Regions from separate parts of the Homo sapiens genome. Here all the other regions are linked to region 2. The links are contacts of gene promoters, found by promoter capture Hi-C in human tissues and cell types (Jung and others, 2019). All regions are on one chromosome and are shown on one strand. The core of a region is centred on a gene start or on the middle of the fragment in contact, and the rest is flanking DNA. Distances in the headings are between cores, read along the strand shown.

What was found. Contacts are between HindIII fragments. The study calls those that stand out against the background at their distance.
Region 1: a fragment that was not itself captured here is called in contact with the fragment with the promoter of SLC1A4 in region 2 in 1 of the 25 tissues and cell types used here (hippocampus).
Region 3: a contact is called between a fragment that was not itself captured here and the fragment with the promoter of SLC1A4 in region 2, in 1 of the 25 tissues and cell types used here (spleen).
Region 4: a contact is called between a fragment that was not itself captured here and the fragment with the promoter of SLC1A4 in region 2, in 1 of the 25 tissues and cell types used here (dorsolateral prefrontal cortex).
Region 5: a contact is called between a fragment that was not itself captured here and the fragment with the promoter of SLC1A4 in region 2, in 1 of the 25 tissues and cell types used here (thymus).
Region 6: a fragment that was not itself captured here is called in contact with the fragment with the promoter of SLC1A4 in region 2 in 2 of the 25 tissues and cell types used here (dorsolateral prefrontal cortex and thymus).

What each region holds. Positions count from the first base shown.
Region 1 is chr2:64,135,722-64,139,990 of GRCh38, forward strand. The region is part of intron 1 of PELI1 (pellino E3 ubiquitin protein ligase 1); the gene reads right to left. Among named protein-coding and RNA genes, the nearest start is that of PELI1, 6.6 kb to the right of the region's middle. The HindIII fragment of the contact is 7,153 bases long and covers 1-4,269 here.
Region 2 is chr2:64,987,061-64,991,610 of GRCh38, forward strand. It overlaps SLC1A4 (solute carrier family 1 member 4), which reads left to right and starts at 2,339. Exons shown (of 8, transcript NM_003038.5): 1 at 2,339-3,110. The coding sequence starts at 2,584. RefSeq lists silencers at 1,649-2,348, 2,559-2,738 and an enhancer at 2,341-2,925. The HindIII fragment of the contact is 13,271 bases long and covers 1-4,550 here.
Region 3 is chr2:64,156,803-64,161,259 of GRCh38, forward strand. No RefSeq gene overlaps it. Among named protein-coding and RNA genes, the nearest start is that of PELI1, 15 kb to the left of the region's middle. The HindIII fragment of the contact is 3,586 bases long and covers 1,348-4,457 here.
Region 4 is chr2:64,328,026-64,332,623 of GRCh38, forward strand. It overlaps LOC105374769 (a long non-coding RNA gene), which reads right to left. Exons shown (of 3, transcript NR_187908.1): 2 at 4,000-4,194; 3 at 2,456-2,642. Among named protein-coding and RNA genes, the nearest start is that of MIR4433A, 10 kb to the right of the region's middle. RefSeq lists an enhancer at 1-13. The HindIII fragment of the contact is 4,522 bases long and covers 1-3,526 here.
Region 5 is chr2:65,585,365-65,589,966 of GRCh38, forward strand. LINC03050 (long intergenic non-protein coding RNA 3050) reads right to left here. Exons shown (of 3, transcript NR_182288.2): 3 at 4,202-4,455. Among named protein-coding and RNA genes, the nearest start is that of LINC03050, 15 kb to the right of the region's middle. The HindIII fragment of the contact is 4,701 bases long and covers 1-4,002 here.
Region 6 is chr2:64,044,575-64,049,028 of GRCh38, forward strand. No RefSeq gene overlaps it. Among named protein-coding and RNA genes, the nearest start is that of VPS54, 27 kb to the left of the region's middle. The HindIII fragment of the contact is 4,282 bases long and covers 1,032-4,454 here.

The DNA.
Region 1 (4,269 bases), core at 1,699-4,198, 850 kb before region 2:
ATAATCTCTCAATTATTGTTACTCATTATTATTTCCAAAATTAAGTATAGATTTTATCATGGTCATAAGGTTTAAGTCAACATGAAATGTAAGATGCACTTTTGCAAAGCAATAACTTCTCTTCAAATGCAAGGTGTATTATTACTTCTATTCTCTACTTAATTTACACATCTGAGCCTTAGCTCATTAGGTCATAGACACTTAAGCACATCCAAGTTCAGAGAATTATCCATACTTATATTTACTATTTTGTGAGATCCAATTTCTTCCTTTCCTTCCTTCTCTTGCTGCCTTCCCTCTCTTTCTCTTCCGTCAGAAGTTATTCATTTATTCCACAAAAATGGAAATGAAAAACAGATTCATGATCTTACCAGCAAATCAACAGCCTGAATGAAAGCTTTCTAAAATAAGTTACACTTCAGTATGGTCATCATCATAGAAGTTCAAAGATCTTTATGAAAAACCACTGCCACTTTTTTTTTTTAGATGAATCAAAGGTTTTAAAAGACTTTCAGAGTTAATGGAAAGCCCAGGAATTAAATATGGGCTCAGTTGTTCCATGTTAACAAACTAGTGTTTAAAATACGTTAAATAATCTAGTCTAGCAGCTCAGCCCTGATAGTATGTGCAGTATATGGTAAGAGAGTCTGGCTATCTATACATACACATGCATACATACATCTACACACACTAAAGGGACAAAAACTCTGAGTGAATTAAAGAACTAGATTCCTAACAATTTACTGAAAAATGTTTAAAATAGGAAGCTTTGTTAAAGTATTCCTTACACAGTTATATACTTATATTCTTAGTGGTCACTATGTAATTAACTACATAATAAAAGTTCATAAGTTCTACTTCATGGCATTACATTTTAAATGATTGGTTAAAAATACAAATGAGGCTGGGCGCGGCGGCTCACGCCTGTAATTCCAGCACTCTGGGAGGCTGAGGCAGTGGATCACGAGGTCAGGAGATCAAGCCCATCCTTGCCAACATGGTGAAACCCTGTCTCTACTAAAATACAAACATTTAGCTGGGCGTAGTGGTGTGCGCCTATAATCCCAGCTACTTGGGAGGCTGAGGCAGGGGAATCACTTGAACTCAGGAGGTGGAGGTTGCAGTGAGCCGAGATTGTGCCACTGCACTCCAACCTGGTGACAGAGCAAGGCTCTGTCTCAAAAACAAAACAAAACAAATGAAAACGTTGTGCTCCCCCACCATTGGACATAAATAACAAGAAAAAGAATGGCTTTCTTTACTCAATATTATCAGGAGAGTAAAAATCACTGAAATGTTTAGTTTCTCAGGTTGGAAAAACTGTACCTCTAAAGAATGAACTAGTATAGTAATTGTTCAAAATTAGTAATCCTACATGTATATTGTCCTGAGAGTAGATTTTTACAATCCATATTTATTGAGGTTTTTGGGGGCATTTAAACATTTAGATGAGATCCAATTTTTCCTATGCCTTTTTTAATAAAAACAGTTCTTATGGTAAATCAGAATGTTCTCAAAACAACTACTAATCTGAGAAATGAAGCATGAATATAAGAAGACTTAAGAACCAGATTCATCTCTTAACACTAACATGTGTTAGTCTTTTAGTTCCTTCCCCAAGTGTATGCCATAGCGACAAGACTTAAACAATTTCACTGTGTTTTAAATACCATCCCTTTAGTCTTGAATGCAGAATATAAATGAAATTTACCTGAAATTACTGTTTTGATACTTAGTATTAAGAATTGTATATGATCTTGTATGTGTGTGTGTGTGTGCGCATTTTGTGAGACCTTAAAATATCCAAATTAGTATGGTGCCTTCCATACTAGTCACTCTCAGAGGTTATATACCCTTATTCCAAATGATGCTACAATTATCCACAACATTATTAAAATTCCTTTTTAGTCTATGGGTGGATCTGACTTTTACAAACAATAACTGCCTTCTCAGACTGGATCTGATTTTTAGAAATAGCCTCAAGTTACTTCCCATTTTCTTTCTGTCAAGATCCTCTGTGAGTCATATCTGATAAATAACATGAAATATCACGTGGCCAATCACCCCTTTTTTCCTTAAAAACAAGGAGCAAATACAAAGTAATGAGCTATTTTCACGTGTGGCTCTTAAACTGGCTTAGACGACAAAAAAAATTTTTTTTTCTAAAAATATTGAGTAATGCTAGTATTGTTAAGTGTATAGCTTCCATGGTGACTACTCTAAAGTATAAGACTTATTTTAGATAAGTGTATAAAATATTTTTCCTTTAAAGATGGATAACCAGCCCTACACAATTTAGTCTTCTCTAACCTTCCTTTCCCATGCTGATGCTGATTTTATGTACTCACGCTCACCCTGATCTAGTTACGCTAGTTTTTTTTGTTTTGTTTTGTTTTTTTTAGACAGGATCTGGTTATGCTGCTCAGACTGGTCTGGAACTCCTGGGCTCAAATGATCCTCCCACCTCAGCTTCTTGAGTAGCTGGCACTACAGGTGCAAGCCACTATGCCTGGCTCACACCCTTGTCTTCTTGTAGTTTCTTGCAGTTGTAGGCACGCTCCCATCTCAGGGCCACTGCACTTACTATTCCCTCTGTGTATAATGTCTTGCTCCAAGGAGACCTGCAAGGCTTGCTGTGCTACCTCCTTCAGGTCATTACTCACTTTAACTATTTATCATCTTCTCAATGAAGTCTTTTCTCACTACCCTTTAAAACTGCATCTTGGCCAGGTGTGGTGGCTCCCACCTGTAATCCCAGCACTTTGGGAGGCGGAGGTAGGTGATCACCTGAGGTCAGGAGTTTCAGACCGGTCCGGCCAACATGGTGAAACCCTGTCTCTACTAAAAATACAAAACTCTACTGGGCGTGGTGGCGTGTGCCTGTAATCCCAGCTACTCAGGAGGCTGAGGTAGGAGAACCACTTGAACCCAGGAAACAGAATTTGCAGTGACCTGAGATCGCCCCACTGCACTCCAGCCTGGGTGATGAGAGCAGAACTCCATCTCAAAAACAAAAAACAAGAAACAAAAAGCAAAAAACTGCATCCTCCTCCGAACCTCATACACATATCCCATTTATTCTCCCTTCCCCTTCCCTGCTTTATTTTCCTGTTTGTGTGTAAAACTGTTTATTAGGGGAAATTTCAAACATACACAAAAATAAAGAGGAAGTAAGAAACCTCATGTATCCATATAGCATCTACCTTCAGCAATTTTCAATATATGGCCAATCTTGTTTCATCTATGTTCCTCTCCCTTTCAATATTTTGAAGTAAAAACCCACACATCACATTTTAAGTTGTAAACACTTCATTATACATCTCTAAAAGAACACTTAAAAAGTACATTCTCACACCTGAAAAAATGGACAAATCCTTTTCATTAAATATCCAGAGTCTAAATTTCCCCAATTTTGAATAAATGTCTTTTTACAGTTAGTTTGCTCAAAGCAGGATAGAACTAAGCTTCATACATTGCATTTGGTGGAAAAGCCTCTTAAGTCTCTTTTAATCTTATAGTTCTCCCTCCCTATTTCTTGCTATTAATTTTTTGAATAAATCAGGTCATTTTTCTTTTATTTATTTTTTAACTTCTATTGTTTTGAGGCAGGGTCTCGCTCTGTTGCCCAGGCTGGAGTGCAGTGGTGCAATCATGGTTCACTGCAGCCTCAATCTCCCAGGCTTAAGTGATCTTCCCACCTCAGCTTCCCGAGTAGTTGGGACCACGTCCAGTTAATTTTTTAAGAAACTTCTTTGTAGAGACAAGGTCTCACCACGTTGCCCAGGCTGGTCTTGAACTCCTGGACAAGAGGGATCTTCCCACCTCAGCCTCTCAAGGTGCTAGGATTACAGGTGTCAGCAACTGCGCCCAGCCATTTTTCTTAAAACGCAATGTATTTTATTTATTTTATGGTTTGTGTCTTATTACTAGAATGTAAACACCATGAAAGCAGAGATTTTAGTCTATGAGGTATCAGCATCTAGACCTGTGACATGTAAACGGCATCAATAAACACTGAATGTATTTGGCATCCATGCCAAAAGTCCACCGCTCACCAACAGCAGAAATTGCTAATCACAGTACTCTTTCCTGCTAAGTTTGAACAAGGACTCCCAGTTTTCTAAACACAGCACTCTAGGCAGCCACCACTAAACAATCAGATTTGGTACCCCAAACGAAATTTATTTGCTGTCCCTGCTTTAGCCCCCTTCAAAAGTGTACTATCCCTAAAACAGATTTCATTGCACCTTGTATGTTGAAATTTTAGCA
Region 2 (4,550 bases), core at 1,089-3,588:
CAAGGCAAAATACAGGATGGTTGGAACAAGAGGAGCATTGGAGGTGGGAAGACTAATTGGGAGAACATTTCAATAGCCCAGATAAGAAGTGAGGAAATAAGAACTGAGCCAGTGTGGTAGCAGTGGGAATAGATGGGATGGGCAGATGTGATAAATATTGTGAAAGGAATCTCTGTGGGACTTGGCAATTCATTAGATGAGAGAAGGCACCACAGAGGGAAGAATCAAAGTTCGCTTTGAAGTTTCACACAGAGGTGACTGGGTCATCAATTATGTTTTAACCGAAGGGATGAGCAGGTTTGAGGAAGGCAACCATGAGTTTGGTTTTGAACATTTTAGTTGGGACGCCTGCAGGATATTCAGGTGAAGATGTAAAACAGGCAGCCGAAGACTCATTTCTGGAGCATGATTTGAGAGTCTTTTGCATAAACGTGGTAGTCAAAACAAAGGGAAGGGCTGATTGGCAAAACACAGTGTGTGTCTGTAGGAATTACTCTTTCTTCAGTGCACATAGAGAAATGAACTGCATTCTGGAAAGCCAGATATAAATATGTGCAGCTCTTCATCTGACACTACCTCCCCCGCCCACCCCCCCCCCCCCCACACACAATCCTTACAAGTTCTAGCCAATAGCTGGCTGGCTCCAAGCAATAAAATACTCACTGTCTCAAAATTTGGACAGCTCCTTAAAGTTCCTTATGAAGGCATTTTGATTTGCACAAATATGTCATGACATGTTTTAAGATGACTCCTTTATAGCAAGAAATCTATAGTAAATTGCCTTCCTCCTTAATTGAGGTTAGCCACAATTAAGTCTTCCCTTGCCTGGCACAGTGGGTGGTGCCAGCTACCAAGGAGGATCCCATAAGCCCAGGAACTGGGAGACCAGCCTGGGCAACATAGCGAGACCTTGTCCCAGAAAGAGAGGAAAGAAAGGAAAGAAAGGGAAAGAAGGAAAGAAGGAAGGAAGGGAGGGAGGGAGGGAGGGGGGGAGGAAGGAAGGAAGGAAGGAAGGAAGGAAGGAAGGAAGGAAGGAAGGAAAAAGAAAAAACAAAAGACCACCCACGGAAGTCTTTAAAGAACAATTCACAAGCAGAATAAAAAAATATAAAAATATAATAACTGTGATACAGTAAAAAGACTCAGCAGAAGTTTCCCTTGTAACTCGCGTGGCCAAAGCAGATATCAAATAAAAGATGAAATAAACAGGAAATCCATAGAACGTGAACAATAAGGAACCGTTCAGGATGGCCAAACCGCCGTCTGCGCTGTTTTCTCGCCAGGGCTCAGGCCTGGGAACGGAAGAGGTTAAAATCCAGTGGCTTGTGTTTCAGCTTTGGTTACGTGGCAGAAACCAACTGGAAGTGGTGGCGTGAGAGCTCTGTTTCTTCTAGAAGAGCTTTGCGTCTTAAACGCCCATACCGCAGACAGCTGCCTGGCGGGCGACCCAGCCCCATCCTGATGGCCCCAGGACACAAGCCCAGGAGCGCCCCGGTGCGCGCGGTTCCGCGGCCCAGGGGCGCCGGGTTTGGTGGCACAGCGAGCCCCCTTTCTCTAGCGGTATGGCTGCGTTAGAGCCCTAATGAGCGCGTGCGAAGGCTCCCCTTATTCATCCATCCTCCGGTCCGTCCTTTGTCTCAAGGCCGGGGCCTTGCTGGGCACCATGGCGTGCTTTACCGCACAAGCCCCTGAGGACCCCTGGAAGAAGGGATCTTCCGCAGGAGGGGACGCGACGGCAGGACCGCCCCGGGCCCCCTCACCGCGCCCGGCCCCCTGGCGGGAGAGGCCGGCGAGCTCTGGAGAGGAGCGCGGGCCGCGCGGGGCGAAAGCGCCACCCGGGAGAGAGGGATCCTCCCCTCTCCTCCTCTCTTCTCCCCTCCCCTCCCTCCCCTCCCACAGTCCTCAGGAGGAGGAACGCCGCTGCGTTCTAAGTTCTCCCGGGCCCTCTGGCCCCGAGGACTCAGATCCCGGCCGCGGGAGAGGGCCCGGCAGGTGCCAAGGAGCCCGGGCGGTCCTTCAGCCCGCACTTCCCCGCGGTCGCCCGGAGCCGGCCTCCGTTAGCCGGGCGGGTAGGCGGCTATTGGCGCCAGGATTGGCCGGCGCCGCCCGCGCCCCCGCGGCCTCGGGTGGAGCCTCCCGCCCGGCCGCCCCCTGCGGCACCCGCGACACGGGTGGGGACCAGAGGCTCCCGGCGGCGGCTCCCGGCGGCGGCTCCCGGGCTGTGATTGGCCAGCGCCACAGGGGGCGGGACGGCGGGCGTGAAGTGAGCGGGCTGGGGCCGCTGGCGCGCCCTCCTACTTCCCCGTCTGCGTCCGCGTTCGCGGCTCCCGTTTGCATCATCTCCAGCCGGCGGCTGCTCCAGGGAGGCTGGGCGCGATCCTCTCCGCCCGCGGCTCCAACCCGCACTCTGCGCCTCTCCTCGCCTTTCTCGCACCTGCTCCTGCGCCAGGCCCGGAGACCCCCGGGGCGGCTTCCCAGAACCTGCGGAGCACAACTGGCCGACCGACCCATTCATTGGGAACCCCGTCTTTTGCCAGAGCCCACGTCCCCTGCCACCTCTAGCTCGGAGCGGCGTGTAGCGCCATGGAGAAGAGCAACGAGACCAACGGCTACCTTGACAGCGCTCAGGCGGGGCCTGCGGCCGGGCCCGGAGCTCCGGGGACCGCGGCGGGACGCGCACGGCGTTGCGCGGGCTTCCTGCGGCGCCAAGCGCTGGTGCTGCTCACCGTGTCCGGGGTGCTGGCGGGCGCGGGCCTGGGCGCGGCGTTGCGCGGGCTCAGCCTGAGCCGCACGCAGGTCACCTACCTGGCCTTCCCCGGCGAGATGCTGCTCCGCATGCTGCGCATGATCATCCTGCCGCTGGTGGTCTGCAGCCTGGTGTCGGGCGCCGCCTCGCTCGATGCCAGCTGCCTCGGGCGTCTGGGCGGCATCGCTGTCGCCTACTTTGGCCTCACCACACTGAGTGCCTCGGCGCTCGCCGTGGCCTTGGCGTTCATCATCAAGCCAGGATCCGGTGCGCAGACCCTTCAGTCCAGCGACCTGGGGCTGGAGGACTCGGGGCCTCCTCCTGTCCCCAAAGAGACGGTGGACTCTTTCCTCGACCTGGCCAGGTAACACTCTCCACCTCTCCCAGGGCCCAGTGGGAGACGCCAGTTCTCGGATGCCCTCCAGTTCATACACCCATATGCTTATACACTCCTAAGAGTTAATTCTTAGCTGGCTGCTGGTGGCGTTTAACGTTTTAAAAATATCAAAATGACGTCTGGAGTTTTTGCGTGCTGACCACACCTTTGCAAACAGCTGGGGCGCACCGCACAATCGAAAGAGCAGGGCCGCATCTTTGAGCAAGAACCAGTCCCCACCGTTAGGTGGGCGTTTGTTAGGGAAGAGCCAGCCGCCCCGCCTGTTCTTTACTCCTTATACTCTCGCGCTGCTCTCCCCGGTAAAAATGTTCCGACCACGCCCCAGTGGCTTCGCCTCATTTTCTCCCACATGGTGCCTAAAAGCTTCTGGGAGCATTGGTTAAGTTTTGCCTCTTGGGTCATCCGGCTTGCAATCTATGGCCTTCTCTGTTACAGTCCTTGGCTGCGAAGGAAGCTGGCAATTTTCTGCAGTTATCAGTGGACCCACGGATAATAGGGCTGGGGTTAGTTGAGTGAGACATATTGCCCAGAAATATGCCTCTCCTGAGGGCTTGGGGCTTGGGACAGGTTGCTGTCCACCCCAGTAAAGACCACGGCAGAGTGCTGTGTTTCAAAGGCCTTTCTTTGTGCGAAAGTGTGAGTTCTAGAGGGGAGGGAGAGAAGCATCTTCACTTAGTTTTGCCTGCTTTTTGCAATTCTTAGAAGTTGCATTTCATCCTTTGAGATGATGTAGTATCCTTTCTGTGACTTATCCAAAACCTTGGTCTCTCCTGGTTTCTCCATTAGCCCAAAGTTCACAAATGGGGAAACTGCAGCCCGGAGGCATTTACTGATCTAACCAGGTTCAGTTGAGTGAGGAGTCCAGCTGGCTCCTTCTCCAGATTTCTGATGATTTTGGATTCTGAGCCTTGGAGTTATTAATATATTTTGTCTTGAGTTATTGAGGCAAAGCTCCTCATTGCTGAGGTTGTGAAAAACAGCAAACCCTGGGCAAAGTGACTTGCCTTTCCAACTGTTTCCATTTCTCCTTCTGGAAAATGTGATGGCTGTCTGCACTTAAGAGAGAGATTGTTCACTTAAAACAACAAAAATCTAGGACATCCGTATTTAAAAACAAACAAACAACAACAAAAAAAAACCACTCATGAGGGAGACCAAAAGTTCTTGCCAAAAGGGCAGATAGTGGTGGCCTATTAGGACTTTTAAGGGGATCACAGCTTTTTTTTTTTTTTTTTTTTTTTAAAGTCTGGGTCTTGCTCTTTTGCCCAGACTGGAGTGCAGTGTTGGGATCCTAGCTCACTGCATCCCCGAACTCCTAGGCTTCAGCGATCCTCCTGCCTCAGTCTCCAGAGTAGCTGAGATTACAGGTGCACACCACCACACCCAGCTTTTTGTTTGTTTGTTTGT
Region 3 (4,457 bases), core at 1,891-4,390, 830 kb before region 2:
CATCACAATTACCTTTTCCAACCTCTAACCTCTACTACTATTCTCTTTGACGATGACAACAGAAAATAAGTCACCTGACTTTTGTTCCACTCTCACCCTTAAAATTTCCCTCTAGCTCAGATACCCAACCTAAGATACTTCTTGGAGTCAAGTCATAGAGCTATCCTACCACTATCTTGGGATCCTTGACCACAATACTTACATCTCTATGCTGACAGAATCCAGTCTCCTTCCCAACCTCAAACCATAATTCCTATAAAGCTCTCCTATCATCCCCACTCCTAAGATGTTCTTACATTGAGAACTTATAACAGCATGCCTTAAGCCATAGCCTGGGTCTCAATTCTTTGTTTATTGGATATTTTGCTTGCACTCACCAGTTTTATCTGGATATAAGAATTTCAAAGACTATACGAAGACGGTTTAAAAAGTCCCTTCATATGGAGGGAGAAAAGGTGTTGAAAAGCCCACGAGTATGTATTTTTAAAGAAAACAACTTGGCTAATCAGATTATCATCACTATGATATATACCTACATTTTAGTTTCTCACTGACCAGACTTAATATTTAGGAAATTTGTGAGAAGTGATTTTTTTTCTCTTAGAAGACTAGACATCCAAGAAAGCCCCATCATTCAGAAGTAGTTTTACTGATTGATAAGAATAAAACAGAATTCAGTGAAAAACTTGTTTTGTTCATAAAAGTTGTAGGATTGATATAAAATAAGAAACTAAGCCCTTTCATAAATTCAGGTTCAGCTTGAAGTTTTGTTTATTCAATTTCTAAATTTAATTCTTCTATTACAATCATATATTACCACTTGTGACATTATTTTACTATCTTGAGCAATTTGTTGCTATTTATTTCTCAACCATAACTATTTACCCTCATCTTTTACTCTCCATTTCCAAATTCCTATAGATTATTCAACTGGAGTATCAGCCTGGGCTAGGGGTTGCAGACCATTGTTAGTTGATACTTAATAATAAAATCAGAACATGTCAAATTACTCTGAAGACAGGTCCCCATGTACAGCTTTGAGAGGTAACAAAGGGCCAGATTAGTGACTGTGTGTAATGTTAAGATTTGGGAATGGTGTTTAGCTGGCAGTCATTATTGCATCTCACCTTTCCCCTTGGAAAAGTGTCTGCTATGTTGCAATCACTGAGCAAATGCCAAATGCCTTCTGGGAAAGTCTGATACTGCCAAGAATTCCCTCACCCCCAAGCTGTCTTCCATTGTGTGGGAAAGTTTTAGAATTTCTAGTCTCTAGCATGCTACACCTAAATCCTGGCCAACCAACCCTAACAAATGTGTAATTCAAGCAGTCCCTTAGATTGCTTGGGTAACCAAAAATGTCCAGGGAACAGAAGAGAATGACAGCATAGATACATATGCTTATGTATGACTTTTGACACAACAGAGAGAAAAAATTGCCATTAGAATGCTACTAATGTTGGAATCAATGGTCATATTATGTCTTGATAAATAAGCATAAAAAGGAACCATAGAAACCTTGTTCTATAGGTATAGAGCAGTGAAACTGATACAAAATAAGAAAATAAGCCCTTTTGTAATTTGAGATTCAGTTAAAACATTTGTTTATTCAATTGCTAGATTTCATTGTTCAATTAGAACCATGAATATGTAACGTTTATGAGATAATTTTGCTATCCTAAAAAAGTTGTTGCTATTCACTACTCAACAATAGCTATTTACCCTCATCTTTTACTCTCCATTTCCAAATTCCAACAGATTATTCAGCTAGAGGATTAGACTGGGCTAGTAGTTGAAGATAAATAGGTGATAATTGACACAAGGAAATGGAATACATAATATAAATATTTGATGTTTTAGTAGATTATGAAATGAGTTAGGTGTTAAGATTTATAAATATCACGGCTTTACTGATAACATGGTGAACTATGGACTTGGCTATTGATACGGTTGGCTATCCGTGAATAAAAGGCAAACATTTGTACATGGAAACACAGGCAAACTGGTTGGCTTAGCATAAAACTGCAAATCTATCTTTACAAGTGGAACAGAAAAAAATGGAGTTCAATCATATAGTAAGAAAAAAAGAAAAAGAGCCAGGCATGGTGGCTCACGCCTGTAATCCCAGCACTTTGGGAGGCCAAGGTAGGAGGATTGTTTGAGCCTAGGAGTTCCAGATCAGCCTGGGCAATGTGGTGAGACTCTGCCTCTAAAAAAAAAGAAAAACAATTAACTGGGTGTGGTGGCACATGCCTGTAGTCCTAGCTAGTTGGGAGGCTGAGGTGAGGGGATTGCTGGAGCCTGGGAGGTCAAGGCTACAGTAAGCCATGATCATGCCACTGCACTCCCACTTGGGCAGCAGAGGGAAACTGTCTCAAAACAAAACAGAACAAAAAGGAAAAGAAAGAAAAAAAGGCTATCTCGCAGTTCTATGTGGTAAAAATCCCAATTACCTTGAGATCTTTATCCAGCAATCAAAATAGGACTCACTAACCCAGAAGTCAAAGTAAAACCTCTGAGCTGCTTTAAAAAAAAAAAAAAAGAAAAGGTTTAAAAAGCTATATACTGAAGCTCAGAAACTTGATTAATAGAAAAATTTATTATGTTTTAAACTCATTGAAAGAAACCTGATTATTTCATTCCTCGGGCCATAGAAGATTAGAAACAACAAAAATTTTCCATTCATTACAGATTCTAACATCTATTGTGTGTTAACTATGTGTGAGGGATAATTCCACAAGCAACTGATTTTATCCTCTGAGGTAAGTATTATGACTCCCCTCATTTTACAAATGAGAAAACTGAGGTGGAGAGAGGTTGATTAATTTAGCCAAGATCACACAGTAGAAAGTAGTAGCGTCAGGATTCAAACACAAGTTTTCTACTGGTGTCCACACTTTCAGGTACTACTGGCAAACAGCAGGGTCTATGGACACAGCAACGAACAGAGCATCAGAGGTTCCTGTTTTCACGGTTGAGAAGCAACAGGGAACAGTAAGAGAACCATGGCCGGGTGCGGTGGCTCACGCCTGTAATCACAGCACTTTGGGAGGCCAAGGCAGGTGGATCAAGAGGTCAGGAGTTCGAGACCAGCCTGGCCAGCATGGTGATGCCTGTAGTCCCAGCTACTCAGGAGGCTGAGGCAGGAGAATTGCTTGAACCTGTTAGGCAGTGAGCCGAGATCGCACCACTGCATTCCAGCCTGGGCGACAGAGTGAGACACCGACTCAAAAAAAAAAAAAAAAAAAAAGACAGAGAGAGCCGTGAACTGGCAGGAGCAAGAACTGTGAAGAGCAGAACAACAGGGATGGGAGCTGAAGACTGGGGAGCACTGGACTCTTTACAGTTATTACCTCATTTACTCTTTACAACCATTCTGCAAGTTACCATCATCATTGTTTAGATGAAGAAATTAAGGCTTTAAAAAGTCAAATACATTTCCCCAAATTGCACAATTAGTAAACAGTGGACCTGGAGTTTGAATCCAGGTCTGTCTGACACCAAAGCTTAATTTTTCTCACTATACCTCACTGCTGTAACAAAAAACTACAAACACAGGCGCTTAAAAAACATTTCAGTCTGGGCCACTCTGTGTAGAAGGAAACAGTACTGAACATACTATGCTAGTCATTGAGGGCTTTGTTGAATGCATAAATGGTTGAATATAAAAATGGCACTATAATGAATGTGTAAAATTAAGACTCTAATAATTGAGAAACAACTGCATTCTGTTGGTTAGTCTCCGTTTAAGAAAACAGGGTAATGTATGGTATATTTTTAAAGTCTAAAAATAGATATGGTTAAAATAAAACTAATCTGTGGATTTAAAGGAATGAGTTTCAAGTACTTAGAAAATTCTTCTATGTGGAATATCTATTTTCTAATGATACCAGATAAAGTTTTCAATACAGAGAAACAGTAGAAATAGACATATTAAATAAAGGTTTATGCTATTTTGTGTTAACCTTTATTTAATACAATAAATAAAGGGTCCAATAAAAATAAAGGCCAAATAACCTTTATTTAATAAAATAAATAAGGGCCCAATAAAAAATAGTCCCTCCTTGTTTCATGTTTTCCTAGAAAAAATAAAAAATAAAACAACAGTAGTCCCAGCCCTTTAATAACAACTTAGATTATGTGTTAATGATGATTCATACAGTATTTTTAAATGTTTTTACAAATTATAAGAAATTATAATTTATCAGGAATTCAAACTATTAGAAAGGTAAAATAATTGGATTTTCCCCTGCAGTATACTTTGGTGAGAAAGAAAGGACATGAGATGTTCTTCAGAAAACCTCCAAACTTTAAATTCAGGTATTCAGCCAAGTAAACAAATCATTTACTTAAAAGAACAATGTATATTTTACATCTTTAATGCATGTTTAACTCCATTTCCTACACTTTCCCCATCTATATTACTGTATTGATGATTGGTCCCGTAATGATAATCATGA
Region 4 (4,598 bases), core at 16-2,515, 660 kb before region 2:
AAAAGAACGGGGAGGCTGGAGCGCCTGCTGGGGCCCCTTCTCTGCCCACACGGCTCCTCTTGGGTTCTGGGCAGGCTGAGCTTAGCGGGCATTGCCCTCTGCTGGGGCATATCAGGAGAAATGAGCTAAGGCCAGGGGTGGTCCTATCAGGTGGCAGAGGACAGGATTTGGACGAGTCGCAGGGCTATTACTGATGGAGATTTAGCACTCTGGCCTCTGAGAAAACAGCCAGGTTTCTGATCTGCCCAAGCCCTCTGTCTCTCCTGTCAGGGGCCTTCTCAGCACCCCCTAAACATTCCAATTCCTCTCCTACTCCAGTCTATTCCCTTCTTTCTCTGAATGGTCCATAGCTTATCCCAGGTCTGTGGGCAGAGGGGAAAGAAACAGAAGGGAGAGCTGAGAAATCTCTCCCGCCCAGCACAGTCGGTATCACAAGCTCTGTGTCCGGTTTCCTTGTCCTATATTTGGTAACACGACAGTGGCCTTTCTGACTGATGCGAGCCCCTGTTCTCTTCACTCCCTGGGGATTGCTGATAGGAGGCCAGCATTTCAGTAGGCAGCGCATCATCAGCCCTACCACGGATCTTATTTTAAACTAATTACATTACTGAAGGGTGGGTAGGAGGGAGGAGAAGGGGTAATTATAACCGGGGAATTTTTTTTTAAAGGCCTAGTTTCAAAAATCTCAGACTTAATTTAGTAAATTTCAATTACAGAGAGTTACTAAGCTGAAGATCATTTGCATTACATCCTTAATTACTACTTCATTTGTATCTGAGATCATCAATAGAGATTCTTGGGAATGTGTACTTGGAATAAGTGATTGATCCTAATGAGGCCTTTGTTCCTCCCAAGCCTCACTTAGGAAGCTATTTCTTCCCTCTTGCAGAGGCACAGAGTTTGCCAAGCCAGGTGGAGACACCCTAAACTAGAAATGGAGCCTGAGGTTTTCAAACTGGTTTTGCCAGAGGCTGCAAGACTCTAAGCTCTGTCCTGATGTTCCCCAACAGGCATTAATTGCTCTCCCCTGAATGCATTAGCACTGCCAGACTATTACGGATGATTAGCCTCCGTGCCCAGCTACAAACGTCCATCTTTCTTAGTTGGTAGCAGAGGAAATAGCCTTTTAGGACCTTCTCCTTGCACAGGATGGATGCCGTCCTGGACCTTCCTGCTTCTGCGTTTCCCGCCACCTTTAAAGAAAGTGCATCCAGCAGTCCTGGCCACTGGGTCTTTATTGGAAAAGCTGTTTTCCAAGATGATTTAACTCTGAAAAAAAAAATGAAAAGCCCACAAGAACTGAAGACCCTGTGTGCGTGTGTGTGAGTCTGTATTAAGACCCCTTTTATAGGAGACAGACTCCTTTTGGGGAAGAGGGAGAGGTAGGGAAAGGACGAAGTGAGTAAAGGCACTCTCAGCTAAATCCTGCATGCCCATAGTTCCTTCATTGTATGGTACCTCACACCCTTACAGGGCTTTACCGAGCGCTTGTTCATCTGTTAGCTTACAGGTAAGAGAATCATTGTCCTCATTCTCTGAGTGAAGAAACTGATGCTCACAGTAGTTAAGTGACTTTGCCCAAAATTACTGAGCTGAGGAGTGACAGAATGGGGACTGAAGTCCCAGTCTCTTAATTCTGTGCTCCTCGGATACCCCCAAACCACCTCCATGGTCTTCCAGCAGCCTGAACATTTATCCATTTATGGAGGTCAGGGTGTGGGTCCCACTGCAGCCTGCTGCCCCATTTAAACTTTATTTCTGAATCTGTACATTTAAGCAAACCACTTTGTTTCAGAGGCATCCAGAGAGTAGCCTTACTTAACCTTCTTCTGGAGGTGTGTCTATTTGGTGGAGAATGGTGGAGGGGCCTGGAGGGAAGGAAAGGGAGGAGCCAGTAGGGAATTTTCACAGTTTTCCACCAGATGAGGCCAAAGCCCAGAAGTCAGACAAATCCACGATTCTCCTGGCATTCTACAGAGTTGCCAACTCCCTGCCCTGCTCTTTGCTCTCATTATTCCTCTGGGGTGGTTTCCAAGGGTGGAGAAGTGTAGGCTGAGGAAATGTCTGTGTTGAGGGAGGGCAGATGCTGTGAGGAGGGAGGTGTTTACACCAAGCATCGAGCCAGGCCTTGGAGTCACAGGGACAGGCCCAGAGCAGGAAGTGTCCTCCAAGCTAGAAGTCCTCTAGTTCAGAGGTTCTTTGTCTCCTCAAGAACCTCCTGGAACCTCCTGGACATTGTAGCATCCTCTGCAATAGCCACTACCCCTAGCAGTGCAGATGGAGTACTGTAGTGAAATGAACAAATTTTTTGGAGCTCAATAACTCTGGGTTCAAATCCCACTTCTGCTTATGAGCTGAAAGATCTTGAGTAAGTCCTGTAACCTCCCTAAAGATCAGTTGAGATTACCAATATCCACTGCCTTGGCTGTTCTGAGGTTGAAATGAATCACGTTAAACAAATAGCAAATGGTGGCTTTAATTAGTAGAGGGTTAGAGGGCAGCCAGACAGTGGCAGGACAAAAAAGGAGGGCTGCTTGTCCTGTAGGCAGTAGCAAGGAGCGGGAGTGGATTCCACAGTGAAGCAGCTTCCAAGGGCTTTTTGTAAGCAGCCCCTATGCTGGCTCTGGGAGAGCTCTGAGAAACTAGTTTGAAAAGCATAGAAGTCATAAAATAGCACCAGTATTTTTTTTCTAGTGTGAGCAAAAATATTCATGCAGACAAATCCAAGCCAATCTTCTGGGACTAAGACTCTAAATATTACTTGTGAGTCACCCCAGCTTCCTTCCAAGAGAAAGACTCCCCCATCCCCTCACCCAACACCCCCGTCCGTGACACATTAAGATTGTAGCTTTTCAGCTTCTTCCACCAAACTCTCAGTCCCTCATCGTGGGCATGAGGACAGCCCTGTGTGCAGAAAACGTGTTTCTCCATTTCGGTCTCTCTCTTGGTTAAAGCCAATTTCCAAAAAAACCAAAACCACCTTATCAGAGCAAGACCCATGTCAAGCTCCGCAGCAGGCACTAGGTGGCGCTAGATCCCATGTTATTAAGGCAACTCTAAAGCTGCGCCCTTTTCTGGAAAAATGTTTCTGTTGTGAGATCCTCTCTTTCCCAGAGACCTGAGACCACCTCAGTTTATACCACAAGCTTAAAGCGCCACCAGAAGATCGCATACTATCTCAGGAGCCCCAGCTTTGCTGCTAACCTAGTCCTTTTCAGGGTGTGGCTGTGGAAGGAGTTTCTAGACCTGAGGCTGGAGACCCCAAGTCCTTTGCTGAACTGTAAATAATATTAGGAACAAGTAGTCCATTTCAACTTCTGCTCTGCCCTGAGGCGCAGGAAGGAAAACAACTTTTTCCCTTAGGAGGAGGTGAGGAAAAAAAAGAGGCAGATCCTAGAAGCTCCTTTGTGAGAGCAGCCAAGCATCTTCCCTGCCCTCTCCCGCAGAATGGAGGCCCACCCCGACCTCAGGTCATTTCCTTCCATGGCCAGCCCCCTCTCAGGGTGAAACATGATCCTCAGTGCCCCTCTGGAGGTAAGCTGTAGGTTCTTTTTTTCTCCAGGGATCTGAGCTGAGGTTGCCCTGAAATGCCTGTTTAATTTCATTGCCGAGAGCACACCTTCTCATTATTTCGAGAGCTGTGACCCCAAAGCACTTATGAACAATAGCAGCAACTGGCAGTTATAAGCTATTTACAGTTTTCTAAGCGTTATGAGCACTCTTGATGCCTGGAGAGGCAGGTGAGTTGCATTTTCTGTTTGCAGATACAGTGACTGACACCCCAGGGTCTCATTGGAACTGCTGGCACTGATGTTGTCTCTTGGAAATGATGATGATCATTGTTGCTTATTATAATTTTCACTGTTATGTTCCCTTTGATGTGTAAGAGGCCAAACAGAACACAAGCTTTTGGTTAATGGGTTTCCTGTTGGCTGAGTCTATCTGGGCTGAATGTGGAGAACCACTGAAAGGAGGTGAATGCCCTGAGCAGACCTTTACCTTCTTGGCCATGTGAGAGTTTACTGCAGTAGGAAGCTGGGCTCCGCAGAGTAAAGGGCAGGTGTGTGGGGAAGCCTTCCTTGCCCCTTCCACCGTGTGAAGACATAGGGAGACGATGGCCATCTATGAACCAGGAGGCAGGCCCTCCCAAGGCCTGTTGCTGGCACTTTGATCTTGGACTTCCAGCCTCTAGAACTGTGAGAAAAGAGTGCCTGCTGTTTAAGCCACCCAGTCTGTGCTATTTTTGTTAGAGCAGTCCGAATGGACTAAGACAGAAATTGGCATGCCTCTGTGACGTCGCAGAGACATTTAAGCCCTCAAAGAGGCCAGCCCCCTCTCAGGGTTTTTCTGGAAAAATGTTTCTGTTGTGAGATCCTCTCTTTCCCAGAGACCTGAGACTAAATGGTGCAATATAGTTGAGGCAACACAGTATATATAAATAAAAAGAAAATGAATGACTCAGAGAAGTTCTAGCAAGAGTCCAGAAACCCAATATCCTAGCTTGGCCGTGCAGAGGTTCCCTGTAGGGCAAAGAGTGGGGAAGGAGTTGGTGGGGCTGGGAAGAGGGGGAGGAAAGGCCCTGTTAGGTGTATTCCTGT
Region 5 (4,602 bases), core at 402-2,901, 600 kb after region 2:
AATGTGTACCTTTTGGTTAAATAAGGTTGGATATTACTTTATATTCATATATTTATCATATATTTTCCTTCTTTTGTCTTATTTGCTTACATTTTTAGTGGTGTGCCTTTTTCCTATTGAGTAAAGAGGTCTTTGTTGGGACATCAACCTATTTTTGTCAAATATGTTGCAGTTATTTATCTCATTTGTGGTTTATATTTTAATATTATTCAATATCTTTGACCTACAAAATTAAAAAAATTTTAATGATCATTCCTATTAATTTTATTGTTCATGGTTCTTATCTTTGATATTTTGTCTGCAGGGTCTTTCATTTTTTTTTTGAGACAGAGTCTCGCTCTGTTGCTCAGACTGGAGTACAGTGGTACGATCTCGGCTCATGGCAAGCTCTGCCTCCTGGGTTCATGCCATTCTCCTGCCTCAGCCTCCCTAGTAGCTGGGACTACAGGCACCCGCCACCACGCCTGGCTAATTTTTTGTATTTTTAGTAGAGATGGGGTTTCACCGTGTTAGCCAGGATGGTCTCAATCTGCCGACCTTGTGATCCGCTCTCCTTGGCCTCCTAAAGTGCTGGGATTACAGTCGTGAGCCACTGCGCCTGGCCAGGGTCTTTCATTTTTTTAAAGAGACTATCAGATCTCTGCGAAAGTCTAAGTGTGGGGCAATATGCTTTTTCTAAATACTCTGTACCTTTGCTCACTGAATGATTTTTGTGTGTGTGTGTGTGAGACACAGTCTCACTCTGTCACCCAGGAGTGCAGTGGCATGATCTCAGCTCACTGCAACCTCTGCCTCCCAGGTTCAAGCGATTCTCCTGTCTCAGCCTCCTGAGTAGCTGGGATTACAGGTGCATGCTACCACGCCCAGCTAATTTTTTTTTTTTTTTTTTGTATTTTTAGTAGAGATGAGTTTTCACCATGTTGGCCAGGCTGGTCTCGAACTCCTGACCTCAGGTGATCTGCCCGCCTTGGCCTCCCAAAGTGTTGGGATTACAGGCGTGAGCCAGGTTGCCTGGCCCAAATAATTTCTGTTTCAGAATCATTTTTATTTTCCTTTGGCTGTGTAAAAGAATCCTTGAAATTTTTAAGCTAGCACTGAACATACAAACACTACTTGCGTAATTCTCCATATCTCTGATTTAAATTGATAATCCACTTAGGATGTGATAAGAAGTTTAAATGTTAATTCTCCAATGAGGTATTAACTAAAGATCCTGTGCTCAGACAGTCTATAAGTTCATTTGTTCAACTGCGTAAAACAGTAGATTCCATGATTGCTGCTCAGGGGTGAATTCCGTGGTCAGATCCCAGGCTGGGAGTTGCAAGGGCTATCATCAATCTATTTTCTCCTTTTCCTAACAATTATCAGCACTAACCACACAGAGATTAATGGGCACCAGGCAGTGGAAAGAGGGCAGTCGACACTTCGTTGAGATTGTGTTTTCACAGATCTGTCACTGTTAACTCCAGTGACCCTCCAAATTAGTTACTGCATTGTCACTGGGGCCTTCAAGCCAGGCTTTTTGAAATGTCCTTGGGATTTTGTGGGCTATCCTTTAGTTTCTGTTATGTCTACAGGTTTCAGGGATATTTACTAAATCCAGAATATCCTGTATCAGTGCCTCTGTCCTCCTCATTAAGTCCAAGAGAAGCCATCAGACATAGTCCTGGTGTACTTGAACCCTGAAGCTTCCCAAAGGCAGGGGATGGATTCCAAGAGGCCAGGAATCCTTTTTATCTTTATTTATTTATTTATTTATTTATTTATTTATTTATTTATTTATTTTGAGACGGAGTCTTGCTCTGTTGCCTAGGCTGGAGTGCAGTGGCACCATCTCAGCTCACTAAAAGCTCTGCCTCCCGGGTTCACGCCATTCTCCTGCCTCAGCCTATTAAGTAGCTGGGACTACAGACGCCCGCCACCATGCCTGGCTAATTTTTTGTATTTTTAGTAGAGATGGGGTTTCACCGTGTTAGCCAGGATGGTCTCGATCTCCTGACCTTGTGATCCACCCGCCTCGGCCTCCCAAAGTGCTGGGATTACAGGCGTGAGCCACCGCACCCGGAAGGAATCCTTTTTTTCTTTTGGGGGTTCTCCAAATAACTGGCTCAGAAAGTTACTGTGGGTGGTCTACTTTTATATTAAGCTTCCTGCAAGCTTCCTTGGAGGAAGTCCCCGTTTATTTGTATATTTATTTTTAAGGGAGTTGTGCTTTTTCCAGGTCTTGATATAATGTATTTTACATCTCACATAAAAGACCCCTCTCTTGCATAGTCACTCCCAGGCTTGGCTTAGGGAAATCTGGACTTTTTCTGTTAATTGCTTAATAAAAAGAATAGCTCCACTGGTAAGTGAATGAGAGCCACAAAAACTGAAGACTGGGAGAGAGTCTTTAAGGGGATCTGAGGCAGCTCTGAGAGGAGCGGGTGGGGTGGACACTTGCAAGAACTGTGAGGCTTGATGTCCATGTAGAGGCTAAAGTAAGACTTAGGGTTTGGGGAGCTGAGATGGACAGTCTCCAGCGATCTGCATATGTGTGTGTGTGTGTGTGTGTGCGTGTGAGTGCATGTGTCTTTTGGGTGAGTGAGAGGTATGTGTCTAGAGTATTCAGTGTATTAGGTTCCTGCTGCTGCTGTAACAAATGACCATAAACATAGTGGCTTAAAGCAACACAAATTTATTAAAGTTTTAATTTATTTTTTTTTAGAGACAAGGTCTTGTTCTGTCACACAGGCTGAAGTACAGTGGTGCAGTCATAGCTTACTACAGCCTCAAACTCCTGGGCTCAAGGGATCCTCCCATCGCAGCCTCCTAAGTAGACAGTACTACAGGTGTGAACAACTATGTCAAGCTAATTACAAAAATTTTTTTTGTAGGATGGAGTCTGGCCATGTTGCCCAGGCTAGTGTCAAACTCCTGGCCTCAAGGGATCCTCCTCCCTTGGCCATCTAAAGTGCTGGGACTTCAGACATGAGCCACTGCCCCAGCCACAGGTTTATTCTCTTACAATTCTGGAGGTTAAAAATCCTAAAATTAAGGTGTCAGTGGGGCTGCATTTTTTCCAGAGGCTCTATGGAAGAATCTGCTTCCTAGACTTTTCCAGCTTTTTTTTTTTTTGTAAGGGACGGAGTCTCACTCTGTCACCCAGGCTGGAGTGTAGTGGCACGATCTCAGCTCACTGCAAGCTCCGCCTCCTGGGTTCACGCCATTCTTCTGCCTCAGCCTCCCGAGTAGCTGGGACTACAGGTGCCTGCCACCATGCCTGGCTAATTTTTGTATTTTTAGTAGAGACGGGGTTTCACCTTGTTAGCCAGGATGGTCTCCATCTCCTGACCTCGTGATCCACCCGCCTTGGCCTCCCAAAGTGCTGGGATTACAGGCATGAGCCACCACGCCCAGCAACTTTTCCAGCTTTTAGAGGCTGCCTGTGTTCCTTGGCTTGTAGCCCCTTCTATCTTCAAAGCAGCAGAGTGGCATCTTCAGGGCTCCCTCTCACCCTCTAGCCTTGTATCTCTTTTGACTCTGGTGCTCCTGCTTTCCTCTCATAAGGACACTTGTGACTACACTGGGACCCTGGAATAATCCAGGGTCATCTCTCTATCTCAGAATCCTAAACTTAATCACATCTGCAAAGTCCATTTTGCTATGTAAGGTTATATAATCACAGGGTTTGGGGTTAGGGTTTGGGCATCTTTGGGGAGCCATTATTCTGACTTCAACATTCAGTATGACAGATCTACTACTACCTTCACTTTACTGCAAAGATCCTCAGAGAGAAATGAGGATGATGATGGCAGTGGTTCATAGTACCTTATGTTAGATAATGATATACCATTTACAAAACTCTTAGGATTCGTTTCAAGCCCACTCAAGTGTAGTTGGATGACACTGGGACTTTGAGTCAAGAGCCCTGATTTCATCATTTACTAGCTGTATAATCTTCAGGCGATTTACTTAACCTCTTGAGGCTCAGTATTCCTATCTATAAATTGGGAAAATGTGATCAGTGGGAAGAACTGGCTAGATGATGGCTAAACTGAGAATCTTTGAATGTTTTACGTGACAGTTTTCTTTGGGGAAGTGCTGTCTAACTCTTTGCAGCCTGGGATGAATTTATAAATGTGGCCAGACTTTTTTTTTTGTTTTTCACTCTCCATTTGTGTTAGTTCAGATCATCTGAGATGCAGACACCAAAATGGAATTAGACACACACAAGATTTATTGGGGAAAATGTGGCAGAAATGGGGAGAGAATGAAGGAGGCTGAGAGAGCCATCAGACCACATACAGGTCTGACATCTGTGGAGGAGAGAACCAGGGTGGAGCTGGGACTTTCTGGAAGAGGTTTTGGGTGAGGTGGGCTGGCATCATTTTATGGTGGGCCTTGGATAAGGTGCAGCAGAGGGTTCTTGGCAGAGGAGTAATTCAATCCCAGTTGGCTTTTAGGAGGGTTATCCTAGGATAGAGTAGGGTGCATTAGAATGGGAAAGCACATAGCCAGCAGTCATCCTGGGCTGCTGCAACATTCCTTAGGTGGGTAGTGCTAAGGTTCTGGATCAGGTTAGTGACAATGAGAATGGAAAGGAAAGAACAGCCAAGTGCA
Region 6 (4,454 bases), core at 1,923-4,422, 940 kb before region 2:
CAGATCATGGGTATTCCTATATTCAGTGTTAGTAGATTCTTTCAGTTTTCTAAAATGGTTATACGAAGTTACATTCCCACCAACAGTGTATGTGAGTTAACAGTTGTTAACAATTGTACCACATCATTATTAACACTTGGCATTGTCAGTTGAGAAATAGACTCCAAGGAGATTATCATGTAGAAAACATATTAGGGGTTGCTCTTGGGATTAACACCTGTGGAAGGGATGGAGCAGAGGCAAAATTGGACAGAGGCAGAAGTTGGGCTGTGGTGCAGTTTCAACTAATGTTTCAGCTGACCCCATAGAGAGCCCCTTTTTTTGTTTGTTTTTTGAGACAGGGTCTCACTCTGTCATCCAGGCTACAGTGTAGTGGTGCAATCACAGCTCACTGCAGCCTCGACTTCCCAAGAGCCCATGTTTTTAAGACCTTTCATACCCTGCACTCTGCCACGATGGTACGCTGTTTATTTTTATTTATTATTATTATTGAAAGGGAGTCTTGCTCTGTCACCCAGGCTGAAGTGCAGTGGCATGATCTCAGCTCACTGCAACCTCTGTCACCTGGATTCAATCAATTCTCCTGCCTCAGCCTCCCAAGTAGTTGAGATTACAAGTGCCTGCCACCATGCCTGGCTAATTTTTGTATTCCGGTAGAGATGGGGTTTCACCATGTTGGTCAGGCTGGTCCCAAAATCCTGACCTCAAATGATCTGCCCGCCTTGGCCTCCCAAAGTGCTGGGATTACAGACGTGAGCGACCATGCCCGGCCATGTACACTGTTTGTATATAACATATTAGCACTAGATGCTGATGATGAAAGCTAGCTGAAGTCAACCAGCCGTGTCATTTTGACTTCTGGTTGTTTAGTGCCTCTTTGGTGGTAGATGGTGCTTGCTGGTAGGCATTACCATGTAATCTTCATGCCCACTTTGTGCCTATTCACATATACCCATCCTTCCCCAGACTTTCTTGTTCCTGATCTGCCAAGCTTTCTCTTCTAGGTCCTGAGGAGCTTGGTTTTAGAAATCAGATAATCCATTATCTGCTAGGATGGTTTAAATAAAAGAAGCTTGTATTAAAACTCTCCATAATATATTTGACTTTTTTTTTTTTGAGACGGAGTTTCATTCTTGTTGCCCAAGCTGGAGTGCAATGGTGCGATCTCAGTTCACTGCAACCTCTAACTCCTAGGTTCAAGCGATTCTCCTGCCTCAGCATCCCAAAGTGCTGGGATTACAGGCGTGAGCCACCGCACCCGGCCTATATTTGACTTTTTTAAAAGCCGAACTATACTATAAAGAATGTTTTCAAAAGAACCAGCCAAATTAAAATTATAGAAGGTTTTTTGTTACCTTTAGATTCATGTTTTAATATTCATGGTGAACTATCTTTTCTACTAAAGCCCTTAGACAACTGGCAGTAGCAATTTTCACTGTCTAGAAGGTGGCTTCTCCAACTCAATGTGCATAAGAAGCACCTGGAGCTCTTGTTGAAATGCAGATTAAGATTCAGTTGCTCTGGGCTGAAGCCCAAGACTGTGCATTTCTATTAGGCTGGTGCAAAAGTAATTGCGGTTTTGATGGCAAAAACCACAATAACTTTTGCACCAACCTAATAACAAGCTTCCAGGTGGTGCTGGCGCAGCTGGTCTGCAAACCACACTTTGAATGGCCAAGTTCTGTGGCCTCTTGTCCTTCCCTGCTAGCTGGAAATTCACCTTATAACAAATTCAAACCCACTTTGGTCCTTTGGGCTAAAACCGATCCAAGATTTAAGATGTTCAAATTGGGATGGTTAACTGATCCCATTACATGTTCTGCCCTGCAAGTTAGAATGCGGACTTAAATGAAAAATTAAACTATAGTCAAGATTTTAAAAACAGTTGAGGCTGGGCAAGGTGGCTCATGCCTATAATCCCAGCACTTTGGGAGGCCAAGGCAGGTGGATCACCTGAGGTCAGGAGTTCGAGAGCATCCTGGCCAACATGGCGAAACCCATCTCTACTAAAAATACAAAAATTAGCTGGGCATGGTGGCAGGCACCTGTAATCCCAGCTACTTGGGAGGCTGAGGCAGGAGAATCACTTGAATCTGGGAGGTGGATGTTGCAGTGAGCCAAGATCGCACCATTGCACTCTAGCCTGGGAGACAAGAGCGAAACTGTGTCTCAAAAAAAAAAAAAAAAAAAAAAAAATTGAAAATGTGACCCACACTCTCCATATTCATTCATACTCTCTATGTCCTTTGATTTAACCAGTATTCTTGTCATACCTTAATCTCTTCTTAATGAATAAGATTTAAAAAGATGTATCGATGGAAATAATGTGTTAAACAACTTATCTGTTGACATAGCAAATAAGTAGAATTATTTTAGAAAGCTATTTAGTAATCTGTATCAAGATGTTGTTTTTTTACACCAGAATTGTTTCAATGTTTGTTTTACCCCATATTCTCATTCTTGATAATTTATTATACAAAATTATAATATTTGCTGAGCATTGCCACATGCTCTTCACTGTAATGGATTGTAGATTAACTTGCAGTAAGGAGAAAAGCACTTTCCACAAACATATTTATTTCAGTATGAACTAAAATGAAAAACATAGGAAACTAAACTTCAACAACTAGGTAAATTTTTATATAACAACTCAAAGGAATAATTCAAGACATTAAAAATGTGTAAATTATAAAATTGTGTGTTAAATGAATGCAAATAAAAAACTATAGAAGCAAAAAAAAAAAAAAATGAAAGTTAAAGAGGCAGAATTTTAAATAAAATGTTGCCTTAAAAGTTACTTGAGGCTGGGCACCGTGGCTCATGCCTGTAATCCCAACACTTTGGGAGGCCGAGGCGGGCGGATCACAAGGTCAGGAGTTCGAGACCAGCCTGGGCAACATGGTGAAACCCTGTCTCTATTAAAAATACAAAAATTAGCCAGGTGTGGTGGCAGGCGGCTGTAATCCCAGCTACTCGGGAGGTTGAGGCAGGAGAATCGCTTGAAACTGGAAGGCGGAGGTTGCAGTGAGCTGAGATCGCGCCATTGCACTCCACTCTGGGTGACAAGAGTGAGATTCCACCTCAAAAAAAAAAAAGTTATTTGAAAAACTACACACACACACACACACACACAAATGTGTAGAAGGATCAGATAATACAAGGCTTCATTTCATTTCTTTGGCTGTTGAGGCAACTTTTAAAAAGCCTTCTCTTACACCAACAAAAATATTCTTGTCCTTTCCTGCTTTCATAGCCTACATCTTCCTGTTTGTGAATACAGGTAGGAGATGTTGGAGTGGCAATCTGGGGCTCTCCCGTGGTTTACAGTGAAGAAAATAACTCAGTTTCATCAAGAGGCTGGCAAATGTTTTGCAGATATTTTACAATTGTATCAACCATAACAATGCCACAGATTCTACAAGGCTAAAAACCAGGCAGCAAGGCATTTGTCTTTCGGCTATTTTTGCTTAGAAGTTATTGGTGTTTGGCCTTATTTTCTTATATTGTAAACTTTTTGGATATTGGATATTTAGTTGTAAATGTCAGCTTGTTTATATTTGAGTTTACTCAACATTGGAATCCCTAAGGAATTCTTGAAGTTTGATAAATTCCCAGATACAACGGCACAATTCAGGGAGAGGAGTTTAGAGTCGTGAGTACCCTTTGCAGGAAGATAATGGTAAGCAAAACCTACTCTTAAAAGTTGTGTTGGGGGGTAGACCACAGTAGCTGATGGATGGTGAATGGTCTCAGGGTGGGAGTGGAGAATGGAGAAGGAAGAGGAGGCTCTGGGGCATAAAATGATGGGCCCTATACTAGCACCTCATTCTTGCTTTTACAGGGGAGGGAAAGACTTTTCCTCTACCCTCCTAGGTTTAAAATTTGAGTCTGTGAAACAAACTGACAATACGCAGATTAACCGGAGAAAAGGTATACAAATTTATTGCATGGATGGGGCATCACAAGAGAAAAAAAAATGAATACCCAAAAAAGTGGTGAGATTTGGGAGCTTATACTGTCTTCGTAGGGGAAAGAAGAAGAGGGATATGGACAACTTAGGAGAGGGTAAATAATTTGGGGGAAAGAATGAGCCCTTAGGGAGATGGAATCGTTTGTAGCAAACTCTTACATTCTATTATAGATGTAATAGAAGTGGTGTCCACTTCTAATCTTCTGTCCTGTTGTAATAGTCAATCTTCCTGGTTGATTAACCTACCAGAGAGGGGAATTAATGACAACTGAGTTCATTTTGGAGGATCTGTCTTCAGGCAGGTAAGGGAGAGTTCAGAGAAAGCCTCTCCCTGCATTTGCTGTCTTTCAAGTGTCTTCAGCTTCAAATAATTAGTATACCAAAGTAGCATATTTTGGGGTGGCATGTCCCAAATGCCTTTGCTTTCTTTTTTCTGAGTTTGGGAAATGTTCTTCCTTTTCTTGGGCACACTGTCCCCACCAAA